Linked DNA regions of Homo sapiens: region 1 is linked to region 2. Evidence: promoter capture Hi-C in 16 types of primary human blood cells and fetal thymus (Javierre and others, 2016). All regions are on one chromosome and are shown on one strand. The core of a region is centred on a gene start or on the middle of the fragment in contact, and the rest is flanking DNA. Distances in the headings are between cores, read along the strand shown. Region 1 holds the start of USP22 (ubiquitin specific peptidase 22). Region 2 holds the start of AKAP10 (A-kinase anchoring protein 10).

Region 1 (7,321 bases), core at 2,379-4,878, 1.1 Mb before region 2:
CGGCGCTCCAGCTCATCGCCCCGCCTCTTTGCGGCAGAGCTCAGGCCGGCGCAAACCGGTTCAGTGCTAGGACTGACGTCTCGCGCCGCCCAACCGCAGCACGCCCCCGCCTCCCCAGTCCTCTGGAAGAGACAGGGAACGTCTAGCCGCCAGGGTCCCGGGAGGCGGCTCTGTACCAGACGGACTATACTGAGAGCCTATGACAATAGCCGAAGGTGCCGGGGGGGGGGGGGGGGTGGCCTACTACCAATAAAGGAAGGGGAGGGGCGGGCCCTCGTTAGCTTCCCCCCCCTACCACGCTTCCTCGGGCGCGGGTCTACCCAGAGCCTAACGGGCGCGCGAGTGTGGGGGAAGGGCCTGGCGCGGGCTGGAGACTGCGCAGTGCGGTGCCGGCCGGGAGGGGGGGGGGGGGTGACGTAATCTCCGTCCGCGGCCGCGGCGCCCCGCCCCGCGACACCCTCCGCGAACCGCGAGAGCGCAGCGCAGGCGGTCCGCAGCAGCCGCAGCTCGGGGGCGGTGCCTGCCTTGCAGCCTCCCCTCGGCGATCGCGCAGCCCCATCTTTGTCCGGCCTCCGCGCTTTGTTCTCGGCGCCCGGGCCTTGGCCAGCCTGGCCAGCCGCCGAGCAGCCCCCACGCCGCGCTGGCGTCGTCCTCGCCTCCCTCGCCGCCGCCCCCCGCGCGCGGCCGGGCCTTGCCCCCCATGGTGTCCCGGCCAGAGCCCGAGGGCGAGGCCATGGACGCCGAGCTGGCGGTAGCGCCGCCGGGCTGCTCGCACCTGGGCAGCTTCAAGGTGGACAACTGGAAGCAGAACCTGCGGGCCATCTACCAGTGCTTCGTGTGGAGCGGCACGGCTGAGGCCCGCAAGCGCAAGGTGCGCCCGGCAGCCCACCGCGCGGCGGGCTCGGGGCCTTCTGCCGCTCCTGAGGCCGGCCGGCGGAGGGGCCCTTTTCCTGCCCTCTTCCCTTCCCCCGTTGCCTTTCCCTGTCCTTCCTCTTCCTCTCTCCTTCTGCCCTCTCTTCTCTTTACCCCTTCCCCCTCCTTTCCTTCCCCCCTCAACTCTCTCCCTTCCCTTATCTCCTCATCTTCCTATCCTTCCCCTCTCCCCCCTTCCCCCATTCTTCCTTTCCCTCCCCCTCCTCTCTGTCCCCTCCCCCTCCTCTCTGTCCCCTCCCCCTCCTTTCTCTCCGCCCTCCCCCTCCCTTATCCTTCTTGGCCCGGGAGGGGCGAGTGCTTCCGGGCCGGGGGTGGTGTTCTCCTGCCCTGCTGCCTGGGGAGCCTGGGACTTCGGTGGGCGGTCCCGGGCGTTCCTGCGCGAGGTCCTTGCGGGGAACTCTCCTGGTTCTGGAGGGTTCGGGGCTGGATGCGGGTGCAGAGAAAGAAATATTTCAAAAAAATGAGTAAAGGATGGGGGGCTGTCGAGTTCTGGGCGTTGGTCTGCAGCGGTCACCCGCCGCCAGGAGCGACCTTGGACGGGAGCTGGGGCAGGAGGCGGGCTGGGGGGCGCGGGGCCGGAGCTTCGCGGCTGCCTCGGGGCCCGCGAGGAGCTGGAGGTGGAGGGCGGCAGGGGCTGGGGCCGGGGCGAGCCTGTGGGTGCGGAGCCACAGCCCGGGTTTGCGTTGCGGCTGAGGAGTAGACTTGGAAGCGCGCCGTGGGCTGTGGGAGGCCTTAACCAGGAGTGAGTCCCCTCGGGGAGCCCAGTCTTGCGTCCCGCAGTTAGGCTTGGTAAGGGTTTGGAAATCAAAACGTAACGTGATTCTTCTATGTGAATAAAGTTTATTTTTACAGTTTCACGCGCTTTTGTAGATTACAATCCGAGATTGGGAGTTGTGAGGGCAGTTTCCACCTTGAGTGGCATTTTTTTATTTATGGGAATACCAACAGGCTCGCTGAGATTGTAGGGTATGTTAAGCAGTAATTCAAAAAAAAAATTATTTTTTTGAGACGAAGTCTCGCTTTGTACCCCAGGCTGGAGTGCAGTGGCGCGATTTCGGCTCACTACAATCTCCGCCTCCCGGGTTCAGCCGATTCTCCTGCCTCAGCCTCCTGAGTAGCTGGGATTACAGGCTCCTGCTACCACGCCCGGCTAATTTTTGTATTTTTAGTAGAGACGGGGTTTCACCATGTTGGCCAGGCTGGTCTGGAACTCCTGATCTCAGGTGATCCACCCGCCTCTGCCTCCCAAAGTGTTGGGATTACAGGCATGAGCCACCGTGCCCGGCCTCAAAATTTTTTTTATCTGTAATGGTATCAGGTAGCGTTATGTCTGGATGAACTAAAATCAGACATAAAACGTTTCAGGATCGGAGTTAGAGTCTTGCTAGTAGAATTGTGTGTCTTTAAGAAAAGATGGCCTGGCTTGGCGCGGTGGCTGACGCCTGTAATCCCAGCACGTGGGGAGGCCGAGGGGGGCAGATCACGAGGTCAGGAGTTCGAGACCAGCCTGGCCAACATGGTGAAACCTCATCTCTACTAAAAATACGAAAAGTAGCCGGGTGTGATGGCGGGCGCCTGTAATCCCAGCTACTCCAGAGGTTGAGGCAGGAGAATCACTTCAACCCGGGAGGCGGAGGTTGCAGTGAGCAGTGATCGCGCCACTGTACTCCAGACTGGGTGACAGAGCAAGACCCCCTCCGGAAAAAAAAAAAAAAGGGTGGCCTGGTTGAAGCCAGTCTTCTACAGGGAATGTGCTGTTGCTACTCTGGGTCAGTAGTGTCCGGATTGGGACGTGACGCGCCCAAGATTTGTTACTACTTTGGATGAAGTGGGGACCGCCCCACTCTTCCTCTCCCTCCTTTTCTTTTTCCGTTCCCTCCCTCCCTCTCCCTTTCTTCCCCCCTCTGGTATTTTTTAACCAAATAGAAGGAGTCAAGTTTAAACCATCATTAACTAACTTTGCCTAATTTCCTAAAGTTAAGAATTACTTTTTTTTTTTGCGCTACTTATGGCTCTGATTAATCTTTTAATTTCAGATGTCAGTTGCTTAGTTTCAAAACTGTTGAGCCACATGTATGTTATTCACCAATTAGAAGTTGAACTGTAGTCGGGTAGTGAAAAATATTTCTTTCAAAATTTAGGTGGGGGCTGCTGCAGTGCCAGTTGGCAGTGTGCCAGCAAGGAGCCCTTAAGCCCTCCATGCTTTTTCCTCTGACTGGGGGGACTTATTTACCTGTATCACTTCATGTGCGGTGTCCTGCATTTCTAGCACTCTCTAGTGGCCCAGTTAAGGAAGAGTTGGTTTGGGAAATAGTTTAACAAACCTGATGATTAACAGTTGGACAATCTGCATAGGATTTCCATCAGATCTGTAAGCTTAGGACATTTTGTTTTTTAAATTTTATTTTATTAAAAATTATTTTTTGTAGAGACAGAGTCTTGCTCTGTTACCCAGGATGGAGTGCAATGGTCTGGTCAGTGATCACTGCAGCCTCAGATTCCTGGACTCCAGCCTCTCCTGAGTAGCTGGGACTACGGGCGTGTGTCACCACGACCGGCTAATATTTGTAGAGACAGTGTCTCACTATATTGCACAGGCTGGTCTTGAACTCCTGGACTCAAGCCATCCTCCTGTCTCCCAGAGTGCTGGGATTACAGGCCAGAGCCACTGAGCCCAGCCATATTTTTGGTTTTAATGATATGAACTTGACTGTAAAAGTACTTTAAGCTGATGATTGTGCCACTGTACTCCAGCCTGGACAACAAAACCTATCTCAAAACAAACTTCAACTTGAATTATAATCTTTGTAAACAAACAAAGGTACTTTTTGAGATGGACATCTCAGGTACAGTTTAAAGAAATGAATCCCTGAATGAATAGGAATTACGAGTTTTGTTATCTAAGGACAGATGGATTATGCATTTTGTACCCAAACTTTGATTCTTCTTTTAACAGGCAGAACATGACAAAAACATGACCAGGCTTGATAAATTTCTGTCCAAAAGAAGCTTGAATTGCAGTAAAACTCTGTTTTTTGAGATGGGGTTTTCACTCTTTTTGCCCAGGCTGGAGGGCAATGGCGTGATCTCGGCTCACCACAGCCTCCCCCTCCAGGGTTTAAGTGATTCTCCCAAGTAGCTGGGATTACAGGCATGCGCCACCATGCCTGGCTAATTTTGTATTTTTCGTAGAGATGGGGTTTCTTCATGTTGGTCAGACTGGTCTCGAACTCCCAACCTCAGGTGATCCGCCCATCTTGGCCTCCCAAAGTGCTGGGATTACAGGCATGAGCCACCGCGCCTGGCCCGAATTGCCATAAAACTCTTGTATTGCAGACTATAAAAATATTTCTGCCGGGCATGGTGGCTCACGCCTGTAATCCCAGCACGTTGGGAGGCCGAGGCGGGCGGATCACGAGGTCAGGAGATCGAGACCATCCTGGCTAACACGGTGAAACCATGTCTTTACTAAAAATACACAAAATTAGCTGGGCATGGTGGCACGCGCCTGTAATCCCAGCTACTCGTGAGGCTGGGGCAGGAGAATCGCTTGAACCAGGGAGGCGGAGGTTGCAGTGAGCCGAGATCGCACCACTGCACTCCAGCCTGGGCGACAGAGCGAGACCGTCTCAAAAAAAAAGAAAAAAACTATTTCCATGATTTAGGACTGGCACGACCACAGTGGCGTCTCCTTTGTGTTTTTGGTGTGTGTTAAATATAACAAATTTCTTACCATTTCAGGGTTTGTCTGTAAAGATAGGAACTGGCAGGAAGTGATTATGATTTAACATTCTACATTATATTTTGAATATAGACACTTTGGAGAACAGGTAATGTTTTTAAAACCATTTCTCTCTTTGAATCTAAAATTTTATGGCACTGTGTCCTCAAAACACTTTTTTAAATTTTTTATTTTTTATGTATTTTTTTTTTTTTTGAGACAGGGTCTGTCTCTCACTCAGGCTGGAGTGCAGTGGTATGATCATGGCTCACTGCAGCCTCGAGTTCCTGGGGTCCAGTGATCCTCCTGCCTCAGCCTCCCAAGTAGCTGGGACTACAGGCATGCGCCACCGCACCTGGCTAATTTTTGTATTTTTGGTAGCCATGAGTTTTGCCATGTTGCCCAGGCTGGTCTTGAACTTCTGAGCTAAGTGATCCTCTCTCCTTGGCCTCCCAAAGTGCTGGCATTACAGGCATGAGCCACCTCTCCCAGCCATCCAACAATGCCTCAGTCTGTCTTTACTGGCTCAGCCAGGTGCTGGGATGGTGGTGAGCACATTGTAGAGAGCTCTCATTACTTGTTTTTATTTTCATAGTCTAGCTCATTTTCCTGATACGTGCTATTGTATTTATTTATTTATTAAAAAAAAATAAAAGACTGAGTCTCCCTATGTTGCCCAGGCTGGTCTTGAACTCCTGGCCTTAGGAGATTCACTTCGGCCTCCCACAGTGCTGGGATGATATGTGCTATTTTAAAAGTATACTTTAAAACTTTGTTTCTTTGAGGAATTTACTTTTTATTTTATAGTGAACTGGATCTTTCAAATCATCACAACAAAACATTACACCATTCATACTAAGTGGGGTCTAAGTAAAAGATCTAAAATGTAAACATTTTTCTGTTTAAGGTTTTAATTTTGAGGTCATTGTAGATTGACATACTGGTGTAAGAAAATAGAGTAATCCTGTGTATCTTTCCCCAGTCCTCTAAGGGTAACTTCTTGCAGAAATGGAGTACAATTACCACCAGAATATTGACATTGATACAGTCTATCTTCAATATAATCCACCATCTCATTCAGATTTCCCCGCTTTTACTTCTACTCATTTGTGTTTGTGTATTTAGTTCATTAACTACACTGCATACTTTATTCAGAACTCATTGGTTTTTATGTAATGTCCTTATTCTGTCTCAGAATCCCACATTACTTTGAGTCTTCACGTCCTCTTGGGCTCTTCTAGACAGTGACAGTTTCTCAGGCTGTCCTGTTTGGTGACCTTGAGAGTTTTGAGGAGTCCCGGTCATGTAGTTTGTAGAATGTCCCTCAGTTTTGGTTTTCTGATGTTTTTCTCATGATTCAGCTGTGGTTATGAGTTTTGGGAAGGAAGACCAGGGAGATGAAGTGCCCTTCTCATTCCCGTAAATTAAGGATGATGCTGTCAAGATGTCTTGGGTTGCTGGGCTTGACTGAATGGCCGAAGTCATGTTTGCCAGGTTTCTCCACTGTGGAGTGACTCTTTCCCTCCTTTATGTACTGTTTATAATAGAAGGGAGTCACTCTGCATAGGTACTCTACCGGGGTGGGGAGTTCTGTTCCTCCTCCTTGAGGATGGAGTAGCTACTTAAATTATTTGGAACGTTTATGTATGGAAGATTTGCTGATCCTCACTCGTGTGTTTATTCATTTGTGTATATCAACATGGACTTGTGGATATTGAATGTATGCTTTGGGTTATCATCCAGTGCTGTGTGGTTTGTTGTGTTGCTCCCATCATCTGGCTGTATCCACTGGGAGCTCTTTCAGCTGGCTCCGGTGTCCCTTTCACATAGCCACATTATTTTTTGTTCGTTGTTTTTGAGCACTTCCTTACTTTCTGGAACTACACGATGTTCTGGGATCATCTTATGTGTTTTCTGCCCCAGCCTTAGACTCCAGCATTTTCCAAGGATCCCTAGTTTCTTTTTTGGGAGAATGGAATTAGATCTCAAGATCTGGGCACTGGTGTGTTCATCATTACTGGGATATCCTGGCTTCTTGGCCCCCTCAAGGGACAGAGCTGGGAAACAGGTGTGTATATACAAATGCGTGCATATACACGTCTGTAATTTGATATATATTCATCAGCATCCCTATTAAGCTCTACATGAGTTCATGTTTATATCTCCAACTCTAATCCATTTCTATAGGGATTATTCTAGCCTTCCCCTCCAGTTTATCTGTAACTTCTCTGTCCAGCAGAGAAAATGCTGGCTCCCACTGTCGACAATCTACTTACTTACCTGTTGTGCTTTGGTATACATGAAGAGAGGTTTCAGAATTGTCCTGTACTCCCTTGGGAAATGACTTGACCCCCCCCCCCCTTACAGTACAGTGCTCAGTTACAGTTCCTTTTGCTTTTAGTCTTACACTCCCTCCTCATTTCCACATTACTTAGGTACTTCCCTCCCCACCCCTCTTGGCGGAGTTGTGTCCTATATGTGTAATACAATTGGTTTCTTCTGCCTCAGCCTGCATTCCATAGGGCCTCATCAGTTATTTTTAAAATCGCATATATTAAGGTTTGCTCTTTGTGCTTTAAAGCTCAGTGGATTTTGACAGAGGCATCCACAACTACAGTACTGTACAGAACAGTTGCACTGCCCCAAGAAATCCCTGTGCTTCACCTT
Region 2 (7,406 bases), core at 3,008-5,507:
CCAGCCTGGCCAATATGGTGAAACCCCGTCTCTACTAAAAATACAAAAATTACCAGGCATGGTGGCACACATTTGTAGTCAGGAGGCTGAGGCAGGAGAATTGCTTGAATCCAGGAGGTGGAGGTTGCAGTGAGCTGAGATCCCACCACTGCAGTCTGGCCTGGGCGACAGAGTGAGATGAGAATCTGTCTCGAAAAAAAAAGTTATGAATGTTTGATAAACTATATTTGTTAGAATGTTTGTTGTAGAATACTATTCATTGATTTTTAAACAATGTTAGATTAAACCATTCACTGGATTTGTGATAATTAACTTACTGATTTTACCTCACTGATTTGTTGTAATTAATACAACTGGTATAAAAAGACTGTGACGAGGCCGGGCATGGTGGCTCCCGCCTATAATCCCAGCACTTTGGGAGGCTGAGGCAGGCGGATCACCTGAGGTCAGGAGTTCAAGACCAGCCTGACCAACATGGTGAAACCCCATCTTTACTAAAAATACAAAATTAGCCGGTCGTGGTGGTGCATGCCTGTAATCCCAGCTCTTCGGGAGGCTGTGGCAGGAGAATCACTTGAACCCGGGAGGTGGAGGTTGCAGTGAGCCGATATCGCGCCATTGCACTCCAGCCTGGGCAACAAGAGCGAAACTCCGTCTAAAAAAAAAAAAGAAAAAAAACACATAAAACAAAACAACACTGTGACGGTTCCCAAAAATTAGGAGCATAATTAAAGGAACTCCTGATAAAAATTAATTTTATCTTACATGTAAACTAAAATGACTTTATGAAGTTAATTCAGAAATACAATGCAGGGTATTAGTTTGCCACAGCTGCGTATTCAGCCTAATGTAATATTCTTGTTATTTTTAAATTCTTCTTTTAACTTTACTCATATGTGGATCATCAAATTTCAAAAGATTAAATGACAATACTCTTAGCAGCAAGCTTCCCTAAGCATATAAACATTTTAATGGGTGATGATTCAGAAGGTACCCGAAGAATATGTACTGCCAGATATCATTCACCCCCATATACCTGCCCGACAGACATCCCATTTTGGGACCCTGGATAAATGTGTGGGTGGAGAGAAAGATAGGAGAAAGTGGTATAAGCAAATGGCTTTGGAGTCTGATTGACAGCGATTGAAATCCTGTCTCTACCTCTTAACAGCCTCATGATCCTACATAAGTTACCCCGATCCTCAGGGCCACATCTGTAAATTGGGGGTTGCGATGGCAGCCATCTCACAGGGTCTCTTTTCGGGGAAGGGCAGGAATTATGGATTAAGTGAGCTAGTAATTGTAAAGCACTTAATACAAGGAGGGCGCATAATAAGTACTTCATAAATAATGACGGCCATTATCATGACTGAGGTGTATGCAGCTGTCGGGGATTACGGCGACTTCAGAATTTCTGGTGGGCAGGGCTCAAAGGCAGCAAATCACACTGGAAGTCGAGGTGAGGCACTGCTTCTGCACAGACTGCTTAGCTGGAGAGAATGAGGAAGGCTTAGAGGAGATTTAGAGGAACTTAGAGTCCTCCGCCTCCAACTCTGTGGGATCTGCTCCCGTGCCAGAGACATTCAGGGGATTTCTCGCACTCTCCCCTCCCCTACGTCCCTCCCGCCCCATCCAACTAACCACACAACACATACAAAATAGCCCCTGCGAGGTTCTGCACGCTGGAAGGGAACAGGAGAAGGGCGCTGCGCTTTCTTGCTGATGCCCTGTACTTGGGCCCCTGGTAGACACAGCCACTTGTCCCCTCAGCCTGCAGAGAAATCCCACGTAGACCGCGCCCGGGTCCTTGGCTTCAGCCAATCTCCCTTTGGTGGGGGTGGGATGCACGATCCAAGGTTTTATTGGCTACAGACAGCGGGGTGTGGTCCGCCAAGAACACAGATTGGCTCCCGAGGGCATCTCGGATCCCTGGTGGGGCGCCGCTCAGCCTCCCGGTGCAGGCCCGGCCGAGGCCAGGAGGAAGCGGCCAGACCGCGTCCATTCGGCGCCAGCTCACTCCGGACGTCCGGAGCCTCTGCCAGCGCTGCTTCCGTCCAGTGCGCCTGGACGCGCTGTCCTTAACTGGAGAAAGGCTTCACCTTGAAATCCAGGCTTCATCCCTAGTTAGCGTGTGACCTTGAGCAGTTGACTTTATTTTTCAGTGCCTAGTTTTCCAGATACCAGGACTGACTCCAAGGACTATTACTCATCTGGAGGGTTTAGCACAGTACCGTCGCATAGTAAATTTCCATGTCAGTTTTGGTTACCTTTCATGCACTTGCAAACATGCCATGCTCTGAAACGAAATAGGCACATCTTTTTTTTTTTTTTTTTTAAGGAGTCTTCCTCTCGCCCAGGCTGGAGTGCAGTGGCGCGATCTTGGCTCACTGCAACCTCCACCTCCCGTGTTCGAGATTCTCCTGCCTCAGCCTCCTGATTAGCTGGGACTACAGGCATGCCACGACGCCCAGTTAATTTTTGTATTTTTAGTAGAGACGGGGTTTCGCCATCTTGGCCAGGCTGGTCTAACTCCTGACCTCAGGTGATCTGACTGCCTCAGCCTCTCAAAGTGTTGGGATTACAGGCATAAGCCACTGCATCTGGCCAGAAATGAAATAAGTAAATCTTTTAACCTGCTCTAACAATATAGTGAAAAGACCATATTATTATTAGAGCAGGTTAAGGGATTTGCCTATTTCGGGTTCTAGTTATAGTCTTAAACTTGGACATTCTTGTAGAAAGTAAAAAGTTTCCTCTTCAAAGTTCCCCTTCTTGTTAAAGAATACATCATAAGTGTTAGAAGTAATAGTTTATTTTAAAGACTAACTTTCTTCAAGCCTCCTTGCTTTGTGCTAATAACTCTTTGTTAAGCCCTATCCTATGTAACTGTTGGACATGCTCACAGGCACGTTCCAGTTCACAGCCTATGCCCCTTCCTTATTTGGAAATGTTATTGCTTCCTTAAACCTTTCGGTAAGCAACTTCCTCTCCTTCTTCGTTCTTCCTTGCACTTACCTATTTAGAAAGTTTTAGGCTATTAGCAAATCGGCTATCAGTTTAAGAGTGTGAGGTCCCGCTCCAGCCAATGGATGCAGGACATAGCAGTGAGGACGACCCAAATGCGTAAGGGATAAATATGTTTGCTTTTCCTTTGTTCAGGTGTGCTCTCGACATCGTTCCATCTGCGATTGAGCACCCTTTCTGCAGAAAGTAAAGATTGCCTTGCTGGAGATCTTTTGTCTCCGTGCTGACTTTTCTTCGTGGCACCGATTATCTATTTCTAACAATTTTGGTATTTCTAACATTCTGAACAATCTTGGGCTAGTTGTCTCTTCTGGGCCTGTTTCCCCATCCGTCACATGATAAACTTCATTGGTTTAAAAACCCCAGCGAACATTTATTGAGTTACTATTACCTTCCTGCCCTCCCCAACCCCAACCCCAGGGAGCAGTTACAACCTCAGCCGCTGAGCGCACTCGCCGGGTGTTAAGAAGCACCAAAGACAGGGAGGCTTGATTGATTTTGCTTTGGGAGTAGAGGGTCAGAAGATTCACAGGAAAATGGCATTTGAGCAAGGATGATTCACTGGAGCTAGCTTTTAAATACTGGCGAGGCTTTTATGTTGCAGTCCCTTACAAAGTTGAGCATTCGCAGGGACTGCACTCCGAAATAAGCCCGCTTCCCCTTTTCATTCGCTAATGATCCAGGGAGCTGCTGGTTCCGCATGCGGCAGGTTGTGCCTTTTCCTAATCAGGGTTCTGCATCGCCTCGAACCCGCAGGCCGTGGCGGGTTCTCCTGAGGAAGCAGGGACTGGGGTGCAGGGTGAAGCTGCTCGTGCCGGCCAGCGCCTGTGAGCAAAACTCAAACGGAGGAGCAGGAGGGGTCGAGCTGGAGCGTGGCAGGGTTGACCCTGCCTTTTAGAAGGGCACAATTTGAAGGGTACCCAGGGGCCGGAAGCCGGGGACCTAAGGCCCGCCCCGTTCCAGCTGCTGGGAGGGCTCCCGCCCCAGGGAGTTAGTTTTGCAGAGACTGGGTCTGCAGCGCTCCACCGGGGGCCGGCGACAGACGCCACAAAACAGCTGCAGGAACGGTGGCTCGCTCCAGGCACCCAGGGCCCGGGAAAGAGGCGCGGGTAGCACGCGCGGGTCACGTGGGCGATGCGGGCGTGCGCCCCTGCACCCGCGGGAGGGGGATGGGGAAAAGGGGCGGGGCCGGCGCTTGACCTCCCGTGAAGCCTAGCGCGGGGAAGGACCGGAACTCCGGGCGGGCGGCTTGTTGATAATATGGCGGCTGGAGCTGCCTGGGCATCCCGAGGAGGCGGTGGGGCCCACTCCCGGAAGAAGGGTCCCTTTTCGCGCTAGTGCAGCGGCCCCTCTGGACCCGGAAGTCCGGGCCGGTTGCTGAATGAGGGGAGCCGGGCCCTCCCCGCGCCAGTCCCCCCGCACCCTCCGTCCCGACCCGGGCCCCGCCATGTCCTTCTTCCGGCGGAAAGGTAGCTGAGGGGGCGCCGGCGGGGAGTCAGGCCGGGCCTCAGGGGCGGCGGTGGGGCAGGTGGGCCTGCGAGGGCTTTCCCCAAGGCGGCAGCAAGGCCTTCAGCGAGCCTCGACCTCGGCGCAGATGCCCCCTGAGTGCCTTGCTCTGCTCCGGGACTCTTCTGGGAGGGAGAAGGTGGCCTTCTTGCGCGAGGTCAGAGGAGTATTGTCGCGCTGGTTCAGAAGCGATTGCTAAAGCCCATAGAAGTTCCTGCCTGTTTGGTTAAGAACAGTTCTTAGGTGGGGGTTAGTTTTTTTGTGTTTCTTTGAGGACCGTGGATCAAGATCAAGGAAATCTCTTTAGAACCTTATTATGGAAGTCTGAAGTTTCCAAATGTTGAGGGTTTTATGTCTAAAAGCAACACGTGAAAAAATTGTTTTCTTCACCCAGTGCTGTCTTCCAATTTCCTCTTTGGGGGGAGGGGTAGTTACTGCTGTTACTAAAATAAAATTACTTATTGCTAAAGTTCCCCAACAGGAAGACCACTACTTTTGATGACTTTGGCAAGTTTGCTAACTACTGGAACCCTAACTTACAAACGAACTACTTACATTTTTGATTTCCAGTTGTATTACCTGCCCAATGTTTACGTAGAAACAGCTTAATTTTGATTCTGGGTAACGTTGTTGCACTTCATTAAAAATACATATCCGAAGTGAGCAAGTATGGGTCTGTGGACAGCAGTGATTTTTCCTGTCAATTCCTGTTGCTTCAGATAAAATGTACCAGACAGAGGCCGGGCGCGGTGGCTCACGCCTGTAATCCCAGCACTTTGGGAGGCTTGGCGGGTGGATCACCTGAGATCGGGAGTTCAAGACCAGCCTGACCAACATGGAGAAACCCCGTGTCTACTAAAAATACAAAATTAGCCAGGGTGGTGGCGCATGCCTGTAATGCCAGCTACTTGGGAGGCTGAAGCAGGAGAATCGCTTGAACCTGGGAGGCGGAGGTTGCGGTGAGCCGAGATAGCACCATTGCACTCCAGCCTGGGCAAAAAGAGCGAAACTCCGTCTCAAAAAAAAAGTACCAGACAGAAATGGGTTTTGTTTTCTTTTTTTGTTTTGAGACGGAGTTTCGCTCTTGTTGCCCAGGCTCGAGTGCAATGGCGCGATCTCAGTCTCGGCTCACTGCAACCTCTGTCTCCCAGGTTTAATCGATTCTCCTGCCTCAGCCTCCCAAGTAGCTGGGATTACCCATGCCCCACCATGCCCGGCTAATTTTTGTATTTTTAGTAGAAACGGGGCTTCACCATGTTAGGCTGGTCTTGAACCCCTGACCTCAAGTGGGCCTCCCACCTCGGCCTCCCAAAGTGCCAGGATTACAGGCATGAGCCACCGCGGCCAGCCAGAAATGGGTTTTGGAAAAAGCACTAAACAAAATCGAACTTGGTTTCATATGACAGCTCTGCTGCTAACTGTAACAGGGGCAGACCAGTTAACCTACTTTTCTGTCTTCTGTCAGCTGAGAATTAGATGATTCCCAAAGGCCCATTGAACTCTGAATGACTTTAAATACTTCTTCTTAAGTGGGTACACGGTTTTGGTAACTGATGCCAGGTGATGAATGCATGAAAGTGCTTAATGAATGAAACCGGTAAAATAGTAGGAGGAAGCTTTATTGGTAAGGCAGGGGTATACCTAATAGCTCTCTAATTTATTGGTATTGAAGTGGTTAACTTTTGTTTTTTTAAGGGGGGAAAACATTCTAAGAATAATGAGGCAAACTGCATATTGCACAAGAGACTGTTGTCTCTATTCAACAAATACCTTTTGAGTGTCCAGAGTCTGCCAGGTGCTGTGCTAGGCCCTCACGATTGAGTAGTGAACCAGAGAATGTCCCTGCACCCATGGAGCTTATTGTCTACTGGGGTAGACAGATAATAAATAAGCAAACAAATCTTCTCTCTTCTCCCTTTCGCTCCATGTAAGTGTGTGTGTATAGGTGTATACTTACAAGTTGAGTAAAGTGTTATGAAAGATTAAGAGGAGAAATGCATTTTGGTTAGATGTTAGAGGACTCAGCAGGTGACCTTGAAACTTAGAGCTGAAGGATCAGTAGGAGGTAACTAGAGAGGCCAGGGAATCGCATGTTCAAAGGCCAGGAGGCAAGAAAGAGCATGGTGCCCTTCAAGAGAGGAAAGAAGGCTACTGTGACTGGAGCATAGATGTAGGCAAGTGTTGGGTGATTGAGAGCTCTACGGGCCATGGTTAGGTTTTATTCCTAATGCCGAGATGCCAAACATGGTGGTTCATATCTGTAATCCCAGTATTTTAGGAGGCCGAGGCAGGAATATAGCTTGAACCCAGGAGTTCAAGACCAGCCTGAGCAACATGAGACCTGTACAAAACATTTAAAAAATTGCTGGGTATGATGGTGCACACCTGTGGTCCCAGCTACTCAGGAGGCTGAGGCAGAAGGATCACTTGAGCCTAGGAGGTGGAGGCTACAATGAGCCATATTTGAGTCACTACACTCCAGCCTGGATGACAAAGTGAGACCATGTGTCAAACAAAATACAGAAAGAATATTAATTTAAAATTTTGAAAGAGGAGTGATCTGAACTTATATCTTAAAAAGATCATTCTAGGGCATGGTGGCTCATGCCTGTAATCAAGGGCTTTGGGAGGCTGAGACAGGAGGATCACCTGAGGCCAGTTCGAGATCAACCTGTACAGCATAGAGAGACTCCATCTCTACAAAAAGAAAAAATAAATAGCTGGGTGTTGTGAGTTATTCAGGAGGCTGAAGCAGAAAGATCACTTGAGCCCAGGAGTTTGAGGCTGCAGTAAGCTATGATCCCACCACTGCAACACAGTGAGATCTTGTCTCAAAAAAAAAAAAAAATCATTCTAGGTGCTTTTTGGAGGCTGGA

What was found. The method cuts DNA at HindIII sites, captures the fragments that hold promoters and counts their contacts. A CHiCAGO score of 5 or more calls a contact.
Region 1: a fragment that was not itself captured here is called in contact with the fragment with the promoter of AKAP10 in region 2 in 4 of 17 cell types (fetal thymus, total CD8 T cells, total B cells and 1 more); the score reaches 7.3 in fetal thymus.

Annotation. Positions count from the first base shown.
Region 1 is chr17:21,036,215-21,043,535 of GRCh38, reverse strand. It overlaps USP22 (ubiquitin specific peptidase 22), which reads left to right and starts at 525. Exons shown (of 13, transcript NM_015276.2): 1 at 525-871. The coding sequence starts at 701. RefSeq lists an enhancer at 1-704 and a silencer at 240-839. The HindIII fragment of the contact is 633 bases long and covers 3,312-3,944 here.
Region 2 is chr17:19,974,679-19,982,084 of GRCh38, reverse strand. It overlaps AKAP10 (A-kinase anchoring protein 10), which reads left to right and starts at 4,257. Exons shown (of 15, transcript NM_007202.4): 1 at 4,257-4,493. The coding sequence starts at 4,406. RefSeq lists an enhancer at 3,174-3,887 and a silencer at 4,360-4,549. The HindIII fragment of the contact is 5,200 bases long and covers 949-6,148 here.